3 separate regions of the Homo sapiens genome follow, and all the other regions are linked to region 1. The links are contacts of gene promoters, found by promoter capture Hi-C in human tissues and cell types (Jung and others, 2019). All regions are on one chromosome and are shown on one strand. The core of a region is centred on a gene start or on the middle of the fragment in contact, and the rest is flanking DNA. Distances in the headings are between cores, read along the strand shown.

Region 1 (4,301 bases), core at 618-3,117:
GGCTTCTACCCACTAGATCCAGAGCAACCCCTTCCACCAAGTTGCGACAACCAAGACTACCTCCAGACATTATTCCCTTTTCCTGGAGGGCAAAACTGCTCCCAATTGATAATCACTGATGTATACAATTTTAGTATATACCCATCTGAATAAAGGGTGATATTTTTGGTGTAACATATGTAATTGAGTAGAAATCATGGGAATCTCATGCTTACTTTATCAGCCCTATAGAGAACACCTCAATCAAGCCAGCATTGTTCACCTAACTGGTAGCTAGCTGTATGTTACATTTGTATATGTTAACATAAAGCTGAAGAACAGAAAGAAAATGGATAGCTCTTTGTTCAATGCCTTAGAAACTTTGCCCCTATGGAGTGTTAATAGAATGCTGAGATATCTTTTTTGGTAAAGGGACTGGGAAAAATGCCAAAAAAAAATGCTAATGTGCGTTTCTCCACACTTTATACAGGTGAAATCTGATTAAAACAAGCACTGCTTGCTTCACACAGAAGTGGAATCACAAAAGGAAAACAGGTAACCTGAAGCCTGTGTGTAGGAGAAAGGAACACAGCTTCCTTATTTAGTTATTTCATTTGAGAATTGTATGTGGTATGTATATGAAGAGTTTGGGAAGGGGGATAAATTGTAGGTGTGTAAGTGCATCTCTGATGCCTTTCCTTTTGAAAAGCTTGATTGACTGCTTGATTGAGTTTGTAGAGCCACGTCTGGCTCCAGTCAACTTCTCCAAGGGACATTTCTACAGGTAGCTGTCAATAGAAGAGCCCCAAGTCCCTAAAAACTACTTGCCACAAGACAATGCTTCTAATTTGGGGATTTAAGGATAGTTCTAAGTAAACAAATTGCTTAATAAATATTTGTCAAATTGAAATGAAGGGATGTAACCTCAGAATTATGAAAAATGTGGTCTATTTTACAACCAATTTGGGAAGGACGCCATCAAATGATAAGCTGACCAGTAAAGGTAAAAGTAGGTAAAAGGAGCTAGCCACGGAGCAGGAAAAGCTGATAAGTGGCAGAAAATCTCGAAATTTACATTTCGAAAATGTTTGGGTGAATTTGTATAATACATCTTAATCCTTTTACACAATACTTTTATCTCATCTTTATCATAAATATTTACCTATGCATTGCCTTAGCGTCTTTCCTGTATTGAATGAAATGACAATTCCAGAGACGCAAAGCCCAGCCTCCAAGTTTTACAAACCTCAGAGTTTGAGCTACTTTGACGAATCCTCTAAATTCTTGGGTGTCAAAGGCATGTTACTAAATAGGTTGCTAAAGGCACCAAGGAAACCAAAAAAGGAAAGAGCTCTCCCTAAAGGTAAGTAGCACTTAATTGGGAACTTTGAGACGTCTGTCACTCTTTGTGACAATTGAGAAAAAGTACTTTGTACATTTTGTGCTTTGCAGGTGAGATGTGACTGACACCTTACTGTCTCTGTGTTTAGAGAGGGCTTTCGTGGGTGGAAGAAGAGGCTGGTTTGAAGAGAGTGCTTTTCCATTCTGAATATCATTAAAGGATTGTGGGGGGCCAAAAATGTAACCTAAAATGCCATCAATTGTCCATTTAAAATATCCTATTTGGCAAAGTGGCTTTGCACTCATCTGAAGAATAGATCATGGGTGGAGTTTGGAAAAGAAATGTTGTGTTTCGTCTCTGCTAAAAACAAAACAAGGTACCATCTCATGGCCTCTTGGTTCAAATCCGTTTTCTTGCTCCGCAGGGAGAGACTGCCCCTGGAGTATTCTGCTTTTAATAAGCTTCCCAATCAGCTCTCGAGTGCAAAGCGCTCTCCCTCCCTCGCCCAGCCTTCGTCCTCCTGGCCCGCTCCTCTCATCCCTCCCATTCTCCATTTCCCTTCCGTTCCCTCCCTGTCAGGGCGTAATTGAGTCAAAGGCAGGATCAGGTTCCCCGCCTTCCAGTCCAAAAATCCCGCCAAGAGAGCCCCAGAGCAGAGGAAAATCCAAAGTGGAGAGAGGGGAAGAAAGAGACCAGTGAGTCATCCGTCCAGAAGGCGGGGAGAGCAGCAGCGGCCCAAGCAGGAGCTGCAGCGAGCCGGGTACCTGGACTCAGCGGTAGCAACCTCGCCCCTTGCAACAAAGGCAGACTGAGCGCCAGAGAGGACGTTTCCAACTCAAAGTAAGTGAGAGGAACGTACGATTTCTCGGAGGGCTCTTCGATCGAGTTTGCCTTCACCCTGTGCCACTTTTCTGGGTGCCAGCAGATGATGGTGGTAGGGGTGAGAGAGGCTGCCTGGTGTCTTTGCTGATAGGACTGCTTTCAAAACTGACTTGCTCCAGAGGCCAAGGGAGGCATATTTTTGGGGTTTCAGGTTAGGTTAGTTCGGGTGTGCTTAGGTAAGTGAAAGGAAAGAAGTTTTTGTGATGTTAAGCATGTATTTGGACCGTGTTCCAGCTACCAGCTGGAGAGCAAGACAGGGTGGGCTGGAGAGTGCATCTTTGCTTTTTGTAAAACCTGGAGCTTTAGTAGGTGTGTCTCTGGCTGGGTAGGTGCAAAGAAAGTAAGGCAGCCTGAACAAGCAGCTCTCATTTTCCCAGCCTCTCTCTGATTCTCTGATTGCCCCAGAGCCTGTCAGCCCATGACTCTTAGCTGGCATTTCTAGGTAAGCTGTGGGGGCTTGTTCCTCCCAGTGCTAGCTGACATGAAACGTCTCTCACGGAACTACTGGCACCCGTCTTCCCACCTGACAGCCCAGGAATGGTTCCAGAAATGGTTAGGTCCAAAGTTTAGAAGACACACCTGGAGTCCCATCTCTCATTTGAATGCAAATTTAAAGAACTGCCCAGTACATAGACCCTTAAACTTTTAATTTGACCCACATAAATTTAGGATATATTTGTTACTAATTTACTAGATATTTAGAGTTTCTGAGTTGTTGTTTCTAATAAGTTAAGAAAACATTTTTTGAGAGGAATGTATTCAACTCCTTTCTTAATAGATGGAAAGTGAAACCTCCTCTCTCCTCTCCATACACACACACCCCTTTCTCCATGACATAATGTGACACAACACACACACACACACACACAGGAACACACACATGCAGTTTATATACACTCTAGTGTTAACTCACCCTTGTGTCTGTTAAGAGCTGCTTTGTAAGTTTGGGGACACATTCAGAAAATAGGAGGGGTAGGGGTGCTAAGAGGAGAAAATATTAAAGCTGCGGTCCTTGAGCATCTCTCATTTTAAGAGTTATCAGGCATTTTGCTTTAGCAGCTTGAGAAAGGGGTGATGTGTGTGTGTGCGTGTGCATGTGCGTGTGTGTGTGCTAGAGAGAGGGGTCTGGGAGGAGATTTAGAAATCACCAAAAAGAGCTCTGGACTAATAACATAATGAAACATTTTATGATCCTAGGCAAATGTGGAATTGATGAAACAGCAGGGCCCATTTTAGCCCCTTAATTATCCGGGAATGCATTGATATGTAGAAATATTGAAAGTTAATGACAATGAAACAAAAGAGAAGTCTCCCAACACAGAAAATAAAGCTGTATTTTCCATCTTCATTATGTTTCCTTTTAAGTAAATTATGCACTTTAAAGGCCAAGTCGTTTAAAAAATATAGTCCAGTTAAATTCAGAGGAAATTAGAATGAATATTTTTTTCTTCCTTTGGGACATGAGTTATTTCAGACTGGCAATATTTGTACTTTTTCATTTAAATTAGAAGATGAGATTTTAAAAAATTATATTATTTAAAAAAAACTCTAATGCCATCCTTTTGTGCTTTAAGAAACTTGGGCCTTAAGTTCTCTAATTGTACTTTAAATAAATAGAAGGTGATCTTTTTTCTGCCACTGCTCACTGGTTCCCTTTAGGACATCTTTTTCTGCATTTAGTGAAAAGCCACTATAAGGAACTCCCACCTGAAGCCACATATAACAGCATTAGGTGCTGTGTTCCAGCTGTTTGCTTCTGGATGCAAATGCATTATGTTCTCAAAGCTAGAGCTTGAGATAAATAAAAGTACTATTAGATACATGACTTTTTAATTATCTGACTTTAAATGAGATATTATAGATAATTAGAGTAATAAGGTATACCTAACTATATTTATAGTCTAATGTATTATATGTATTATATATAATTCTCTGTTTTTTTAGACCCCTTTCCATGAGATCATGAGATTTGGTTTAATAAACGTATTAATTTATTGATATTTTCCATATGCCTTATTTGGGCTTCACATATAGCAACACATAACAAGATCTACATTTCTTTTTAATGAGCATTTTCATTTTTTAAAAAAATTTCAGT
Region 2 (4,301 bases), core at 1,217-3,716, 95 kb after region 1:
AAGGTGGCTAGGCCATGACTATAAAGAATGACCCACTGTTGTATTGGGACTGTATATTAATAGTGTATATTAGTGTGTATTAATGGTGTATATTGATGGTGATCGTATGCATCTACACATGTGATAGAATTGAACAGAAATCAATACACACGCATACACTCTGTATTATTTCTTATAGCTGCATATGGATCTATAATTATTTCAATAAAAAAGTTACAAACAAAAGTGTGCCTTTATTATCCTGGAAGTACGATAGGATCTTTCAAGGATTTCTGTTTGGTTCTACCCTGCCTTTAGCGGAGTGCAAATACCAGTTCCAGGCCTGGGGAGAATGTGACCTGAACACAGCCCTGAAGACCAGAACTGGAAGTCTGAAGCGAGCCCTGCACAATGCCGAATGCCAGAAGACTGTCACCATCTCCAAGCCCTGTGGCAAACTGACCAAGCCCAAACCTCAAGGTAAGTCCTTGCCATTATACCACAATTTTAATGGATTGATGGACTCAGGTAAGATCTGGAAAACCCACATTTTCCAGAAGGAAATATTAGGTGAATTACCTTAAGAAAGTGACTGAAAAACTCCCCTACACTGAGAGTCACAAAAATACTTTAAAAATACTTTGAAGCAGGCAGCCTGTGAGTGCAAATTGAAGTCCTCTGCATAGATGAGGGGATTGGTACAGTCTCCTAACCCAAATAAATAACATAGCAAAAGAAACCAGCAAAGACAGTTGTATGATGACCATATATTCCACACTCTTAATTGGAACTGTATCCTGACAAGAAAAACAAACTCAGAATGTTTATGACGGAGACAATTTTAAATCAAACTTCTCCCAGATTATCTGAAATATAGTTTTCACAAAATCAGGAAAATTATTTTACATTTTCCCTTTATTCACTGCATAACTTAATGGGTTCTGCATTTGTTTTCAGAGCCTTTATATTTTTTGAGTTCAATTTGGTTACCAACTACATTCATCACAGAATTTTTAAATGACAGAGATCTGTATCTCCCAGAAAGTCAGGCTCTGCTCTCTTGCTGGAGAAGGTAAAAACAATCATTATGGCCATGAATTCATACATACAAGGATCCCAACTGAGGGAAATAAACTCTTTCATCATGGATGTTATTGTCTGAATTGTGTTTTCCCAAATTCATATGCTGAAGTTTTAACCCCCTCACAATGTCACTGTATTGGAGACAGGGTCTTTAAAGAGGTAATTGAGATAAAATGCAGTCACAAGGGTAGGCCCTAATCCAGTGCAGCTGGTGTGTTTATAAGAAGGGAGATTAGGACACAGAAATACATAGAGAGAAGACTGTGTGAAGACAGAGGGAGAAGAATGCCATCTACAAGCCATAGGGAGAACCTTCAGAAGAAATCAGCCCTACAGATGCCTTGATCTTAGGCTTGTAGCTTCCAGAACTGCAAGACAATAAATAAATAAATTTCTGTTGTTTAAGCCACCAACTCTGTGGTACTTTGTTATAGGAGCTATAGCCAACTAATACAATGGGACTCAATGAACTCTAAATTCAAATACCTTCTTGGCCTCTACTCATATATTTTAACTCTAAGGTGGTCCTGAAAATTCATACTGCCAGAGAAATTGTAAGGAGAGATTCAGAAAAATGACCATGTAAGAAATGCTCATAATAAATAAAAGTAGAAAAAAAAAATCTGCAGAAGGTGATGGAGATTGGCTGGTTTCCTGCTGGTGGCCAGAAAGGACTTTATTTTTCACAGGCCTGGCTTTTTGGCCACTGCTGGAGTTGTCCATAGAAATAGTTATCTCCAACTTCAGGATGGCCAGGTACAGGCTGGACCTGCAGGTGGTGAGTCTAGGGTTCAGGCTGCCCTTTCCAGATCATGGAAATCTCTGCCTGTTGTCATATGGTTTTTGGAAGGCATGAAGCAGGGCTGGAGTGACTGCAGTGAGTACTTATGCAGACTTCCCAAATGTCATTTGTCCAGAGACAACCACATAAATCTAAGCAAAATCAGTGCCCTATCTACCAAGTGAAACATTTCCAAAAATGGCAAAACTCAGAGTTACTGTAGTCAAAATAATTTATTTTTAGTCCAGCTGTAGAACCAAAATATTCAGCATAAATACAGAATTGAAAGGAAAAGAAATTAAAGAAGCTTCCACATTCTAGCACAGTGATGCTCAACCTGGGCTTCACATTAGAATATTCTGTGGGAACTTGCAAAACTCCCAGTGCCCAAGTATAGCACAGACTAACCCAATCAGCATCAGTAGTTTAAAAATTGTGAATGCATCTCAGAAGGTTTCATGATGCAGCCAAAATTGAGAACTACTGCTCTAGTATGGAATCCATTGACAAGAGACCACACACACATGCATACACATGTAACACACACACACACACACACACACACACACACACGTGCACTGTCCTGTTCTTTCCTATGGGAAAGAGAAAATTCAACTTTATAATAAGGGAGAAAAAGTGGGGACATGATTAGGTGGAAGATGGTGGGGCTGGGTGAACACATAAAATGTTGAAAAGTTTGGAATAAATGGGACACAGCAGGGAACATGATTAAGATAGAACCCTAAACGATATTTAGGAAATAAGTGAAGTCTTCCTTTTACCTGAACTGGTGTATATTTCACCTTTATACAGTATCTCATCTAATAACATGTAATGAAGGTTAAGTTTGTTTCAGGCTTTCAGCTTGAAAAAATGACACTAAAAATATTTCAAGTGGATAGACATTCTGTAATATTCATACGTAAATAAATTATGGTATATAATTAATTGATATAATTAATTGAAAATATGATTACTATGAGTGATTCTATGTTTCAAACTACCAGTTATGCAATTTACAGGTCATTAAAATTCATCCTTCCCTTTGTGTATAATATACCTTTGTTATAACTAACCAATCTTTTCCATCTCAGCAGTGGAGAGTCTTATAAATGCTGTTTGGCACTGAGACACTCTGCAAAAAGAATGATTTCTTTTTTCTTTTTGATACAGAGTCTCACTCTGTCACCCGTGCTGGAGGGCAGTGAGGCGATCTCGGCCCACTGCAAACTCCGCCTCCTGGGTTCAAGTGATTCTCCTGCCTCAGCCTCCTGAGTAGCTGGGATTATGGGCATGCGCCCAGCTAATTTTTCTGTCTTTTTAGTAGAGACAGCATTTCATCATGTTGGTCAGGCTGGTCTTGAACTCCAGACCTCAAATGATACACCCGCCTTGGCCTCCCAAAGTGCTGGGATTAAAGGCATGAGCCACTGTGCCTGGAAAAAAGAATATTCTTATTTTAGGAGTTGAACCAGGGAGATGTGTCAGATATAAAATCTTTGTAGGGGACACAGACACACTCACACACACACACACATTCCATGGCATATTTTTCCTAGTTTAAACCAAAATGTAACGAGTGGCATATGTAAGTTGTATTTATTTTTGTACTATTTTTCTCAAATAAACTTGGATAGATATTATAGCTTTTCCTTTGCACGTCTCTAATTTTAAGATAGCTTACATTCTACTAATCAATGGGAAAGCAAATAGTAATGAATGGAATCTATACTATCATTATCATTATTCAGTTTCTACTCTATACATTGCTCTAGGTGTTTTCCATATGGTAACTTATAAAGTCCCATATATCCTTGCGGGTGGGTATTATTATAAAGGAAACTGAGGAACACTGGTTAATTTACTTGACCAGGAGTATATCTCTAATAAATGACAGTGCCAAGATTTGTCTAACTCTAAATTCATGTCATCTTTTGTATTCTGCTGATTTCTCACCTAAATCACAAAGGGGTATGAACTAACCTCCATGGGTTTTAATTTCCTTTGAAATAGGAGAAGGTGAATGTTGTCTTTTTTCTTTTTAATTTTTGTGGATATGTGGTAGGTGTATATATTTATGTGGTACATGAGATGTTTTGATACAGGCCTGCAATATGAAATAAGCATATTATGGAGAATGCAGTGTCCATCCCCTCAAGCATTTATCCTTGGAGTAACAAACAACCTAATCACACTCTTTGCGTTATTTTAAAATATACACTTATTATTGACTATATAGTCACCCTGTTGTGCTATCAAATAGTAGGTCTTATTCATTCTTTCTATTTTTTTGTACCCATTAACCATCCCAACCACCCATCACTACCCTTCCCAACCTCTGTTAACCATCCTTCTACTCTCTATGTCCTTGAGTTTGTTTCGATTTTAGATCCCACAAATAAGTGAGTACACGCAATGTTTCTCTTTCTGTGCCTGTCTTATTTTACTTAACCTAATG
Region 3 (4,301 bases), core at 1,032-3,531, 77 kb before region 1:
AGGCCACATCAGACCTGCTTACAGATATCACTGGGTGAAACATGAGTACACTTGTTCACCCCAAGTTCCTTTCAGAGGCCTTGAAGGACACTGCTAAAACACATCCAGTGAGTTCAGGGACCCTGATCACAGGAAGAATGCCTGCCTGATGTTGGAGGAAGGGGTAAAGCCAACGCCTGAAGCTTTCTCTGTGCTTCTCTGTAACAGTCACCAGAGCTACAGGCCAGCAGCACTTTTCTTTTACATGGCACCTTCCTCTCATTTGTGGGGAAAATAAGGACTTTATTAGTTCTTCCATTTCTCTTACCCTCTCAGGATTATAGCTTTATCATCCAAATGCCAGGAAAGTAAAACAAAACAAAGTTAGACAATCTAAATTAAACTCTCTCAACATTATAGGGATGAAGGACCTTCAGAGTACTAGAACTTCTTAAAAAAAATCTCTTGCATTGCTACATCAGTTTCCAACACACATATTATTTCATTCAAATGTTAAGAAGGGGAAAAGAATGTTACAGTGTACTGTAATTATTTTAGGTTCATGATGAAAATGCTTTACAAGGGTGGGCGCGGTGGCTCACGCCTGTAATCCCAGCACTTTGGGAGGCTGAGGCGGGTGGATCACTAGGTCAGGAGATCGAGACCATCCTGGCTAACATGGTTAAAACCCGTCTCTACTAAAAATACAAAAAATTAGCCAGGTGTGGTGGCGGGCGCCTGTAGTCCCAGCTACTCGAGAGGCTGAGGCAGGAGAATTGCGTGAACCCGGGAGGCAGAGCTTGCAGTGAGCTGAGATGGCGCCACTGCACTCCAGTCTGGGTGAGAGTGCAAGACTCCATCTCAAAAAAAAAAAAAAAAAAAAAAAAAAAGAAAAGAAAAAGAAAATGCTTTACAAATATGAAAACTCCTCCCTGGTTTTTTTTGAAAGCTTAATGTTTGTCTAACAAAACCGTAAATAGGATTCTATAATATTGATGTTAGAAATGAATTTATATTTTTCTAGTTTTAAGGGAATAGCTGTATATTACTTTAGATGGTGGTACTATATAAAAATATGTTTTCCCATTACATCCAAAGGTGATGATATTAATTTATTGCTAGAGAAAGAATTGATATTGAGTTATAGAGATTTTCCAGAAGGTATTTTAAGACCCTTTGCTGGTCCTTTGTGACTGGCGTCATGTATGTTACACAGCAGGTTGAAAGTGACATGCTGTGATTCTGGAAGAGTGTGAGTCTATTGGCCCTGTAACCCATGAGCTTGTTTTCACTAACCCAGTGCTCAAAGCAAATTAATTCACCCACGAAGTTTGCTTTAACACTTATCTAAGCGTTACTATCAATGTTCTAGGAAGTAACAAGTATCATTGCTGATATACAGCTCTGAGTTGACTCATAAACATTTCTGATCTCATGAGATAGTTGCAGTGGTGTTTTGCTGTGTTTACTAGATGCAACTAACAAACACCATGAGATTTACAAAGAGATTTGAAGATATCTGTGTCTCCAAAATTGATTGCAAGGTGTAGCAGGGGCCAGTAAGGTGAGCTTTCTTCCACTCCCTAGAATGTCTTCCTCAATCCAGATTTTAAAGTGTATTGAAATGATAGCCGGCTGAATCACCAGGTCGAAAGGATCAACCAACTATTTATTAAGCACTTCATGTATTTTCTGTCCCATAGAGATTTCAGTGAAAGATATAGTGTGGATAAAACAAAGAGAAAAAAGTGTCCTCATGCTTATGACTTAATCGCAGAAGTGGAACTTAGACATGTGAAACAATTAAACAATTTCACAACAACAGATAAGCAAATGGGATGCTTTGGAGAGACATCTGGTCCCTGTGCTGTTTATAGCCAATTCCAGTGGTGAATAAAAGAAGTGGAACGAACTGCTTTTGAAGGGAGTGCATCCTGATCCTCTGGCAGCAAGGTAGAGGTTTTCTGCCAGGAGGGAACACTAGACGGAGGCTGTTTGTTTTTTCTCCAAACAGAAATCTCTTCCATGCTAATAGGAGCTTCAAAAGGATTGCCACAGCAGATGGAAAGAACCAATATATATTCATGCATTTAATTAGCAGGAATTAATTGAATTGGGGGATTAATTCTGTCATTAGAGAGAAACAAAACCTATTTTTGTCTCCCATCTATGGTTACACAATCTAAGATGGATTTGGCACAGGTGGTGTTTGAATATAAAGCCACCGTAGTATCTAATGGCCTTTTGATGCCACTGATGGATTAATCCCAGGGATGATGAGAAGGTAGCCATGTGAGATGTGTGCTCTGCACCATGTTTCAGCAGTGGAGGAGAAGCTGGTAGGTGGAGTGTGAGGGGTATAAACCTAGAATTCAGTGAGTGTTTGAAGGAGGAAAAAGGGGAGGAGATTGGGAGAGTCTCTTCTCTTACATCTGATTTTTTTTTCTTTTTCTTTTTCTTTTTTATTGAGACGGAATCTCACTCTGTCACTCAGGCTGGAGTGCAGTGGCGTGATCTCGGCTCACTGCAACCTCCGCCTCCTGGGTTCAAGCAATTCTCTTGTCTTAGCCTCCCAAGTAGCTGGGACTACAGGCTTCCACCGTCATGCCCAGCTAATTTTTGTATTTTTAGCAGAGACAAGTTTGTACCACGTTGGCCAGGCTGATCTCAAACTCCTGACCTCAGGTGATTCACCTGCCTCGGCCTCCCAAAGTGCTGGGATTACAGGCGTGGGCCACAGTGCTCGGTCACATCTGATTATTAATGAGAGATTAAGGACAGACACACCTAAGACAGAATTTTTAATTCAATCTAACAAGCACCCATTGCCTGGTCTTCCCCCTGCTTTTCTTTTTTTTTTTCTTCTCCAAAAATCTGTTCCTCCAGAAAAGCAGTTTTCATCCTTTTTAATTTTTAGGCCAAGATACTCATGACATAAACCAGATGACATTGTATGCATAACACATTCCCATAAGTGACATAGGTAAAAAGACTGTTGATTATACCCCTTTCCCAACACTGACAAGTCAACACCAGCCCTCCGACTCAAAGCACATCACAATTCAAGTATATGATGTGACAGTTTGTACTTTTCAAAAATAGCCATGGCATTTTCTCCCACCTACACACTCATCTTGCAATGTGACTTTGATGCTCTTTCCATTGAAATGTGGGATCTACGCTCTCTCTCCTTGTATATGCGCAAACGTGGACTTCAGCAGGAATGATACCTTGGGATTTCCAAGGCGAGGTGAGTTGATCACTGGGCTCTCTTGGGATGGTTGCTTTTGGAACCCAGCCACCATCTTATAAGAAAGCCCAAGAAGCACACGGGAAGCCCAGGAATCCCACATGAGAGGATCCAAGGCTCCTAGCCGATACCAGTACCCAGTTACTAGCCATGTGTCTGATCATATTTGAACTGGATCTTTCAGCTCTTAGTGGAGCAGCTCCAACTGCTGCCAGGTATAACAAAGACAAACTATCTCTGCAGAACGCTGCCCCAAATGCAGATTTTTGAGCAAAAGAAATAATTGGGTTTTAAGTCATATACTTTACCATGCAATAATAGATAGTTGATACAGAGTTGCATGTCATTAGAAGAATAATCTTAAATCTGTTCTAATATGTTAAAAACCTTCAGTAGTTTAACTTTTATTATAACAAATAATTTGTCACATGTCTTTTTACTGATTGTGAAAAAGTCCTCTAGGCCTAGATAAAAATGCAGAGGTCTTTAGAAATTTATATAATTCATTCTTTTTCTCACCTCATCTTGGACTTATTCAGTATGCCTATGTAGAATAATATTAATTACAGTCATTTTTCTTGAGCTGCTTCCCATTTATGCCTCATTAGCATAATTCACAGCGGTCATCCATACCTGTGAATTCGTGTTAGATTACCTTTGCTGTGTTTGATGATTATACTAAATTTCATTTTTTTGCGAGCTAAGCCTTCACAGTTTGTTGCTCATGTACCATGGCTGGCTGCTCACAAAATAGAAAAATTGGACAGAATGTTTCTGATAAGGTAAATACAGCAAAGGCTATGCAGAAATATGTATCTCAGAGAGTGAGCTATGGGGCAGCTATGGTATAAGTTATCTGGTAGCCACGCAAGAAGTAACGGATTGAATAAAGGCAAACTATGAAGACTTCAGTCATGATAAGATCAAGAGAATTATTTGTGTCACATTTGCGATGGATTTTGTCTCTGTTGGCACACACAAAAAGTTGGGCCTTAAAACTGTAAATTTACTTTAACTTCATTTTGTATGTCATGCATTCATGAAACTTTTTCCGGGGGTTATTTTCATTTTT

What was found. The method cuts DNA at HindIII sites, captures the fragments that hold promoters and counts their contacts. A contact is called where the count stands out against the background at its distance.
Region 2: a contact is called between a fragment that was not itself captured here and the fragment with the promoter of PTN in region 1, in 4 of the 25 tissues and cell types used here (bladder, dorsolateral prefrontal cortex, heart right ventricle and 1 more).
Region 3: a contact is called between a fragment that was not itself captured here and the fragment with the promoter of PTN in region 1, in 2 of the 25 tissues and cell types used here (hippocampus and stomach).

What each region holds. Positions count from the first base shown.
Region 1 is chr7:137,341,299-137,345,599 of GRCh38, reverse strand. It overlaps PTN (pleiotrophin), which reads left to right and starts at 1,867. Exons shown (of 5, transcript NM_002825.7): 1 at 1,867-2,161. RefSeq lists a cis regulatory region at 1,315-1,324 and promoters at 1,328-2,073, 1-2,073. The HindIII fragment of the contact is 6,839 bases long and covers 1-3,863 here.
Region 2 is chr7:137,247,388-137,251,688 of GRCh38, reverse strand. It overlaps PTN (pleiotrophin), which reads left to right. Exons shown (of 5, transcript NM_002825.7): 4 at 298-459. Among named protein-coding and RNA genes, the nearest start is that of PTN, 94 kb to the left of the region's middle. The HindIII fragment of the contact is 7,666 bases long and covers 1-4,301 here.
Region 3 is chr7:137,419,164-137,423,464 of GRCh38, reverse strand. The region is part of intron 28 of DGKI (diacylglycerol kinase iota); the gene reads left to right. Among named protein-coding and RNA genes, the nearest start is that of PTN, 78 kb to the right of the region's middle. The HindIII fragment of the contact is 3,451 bases long and covers 556-4,006 here.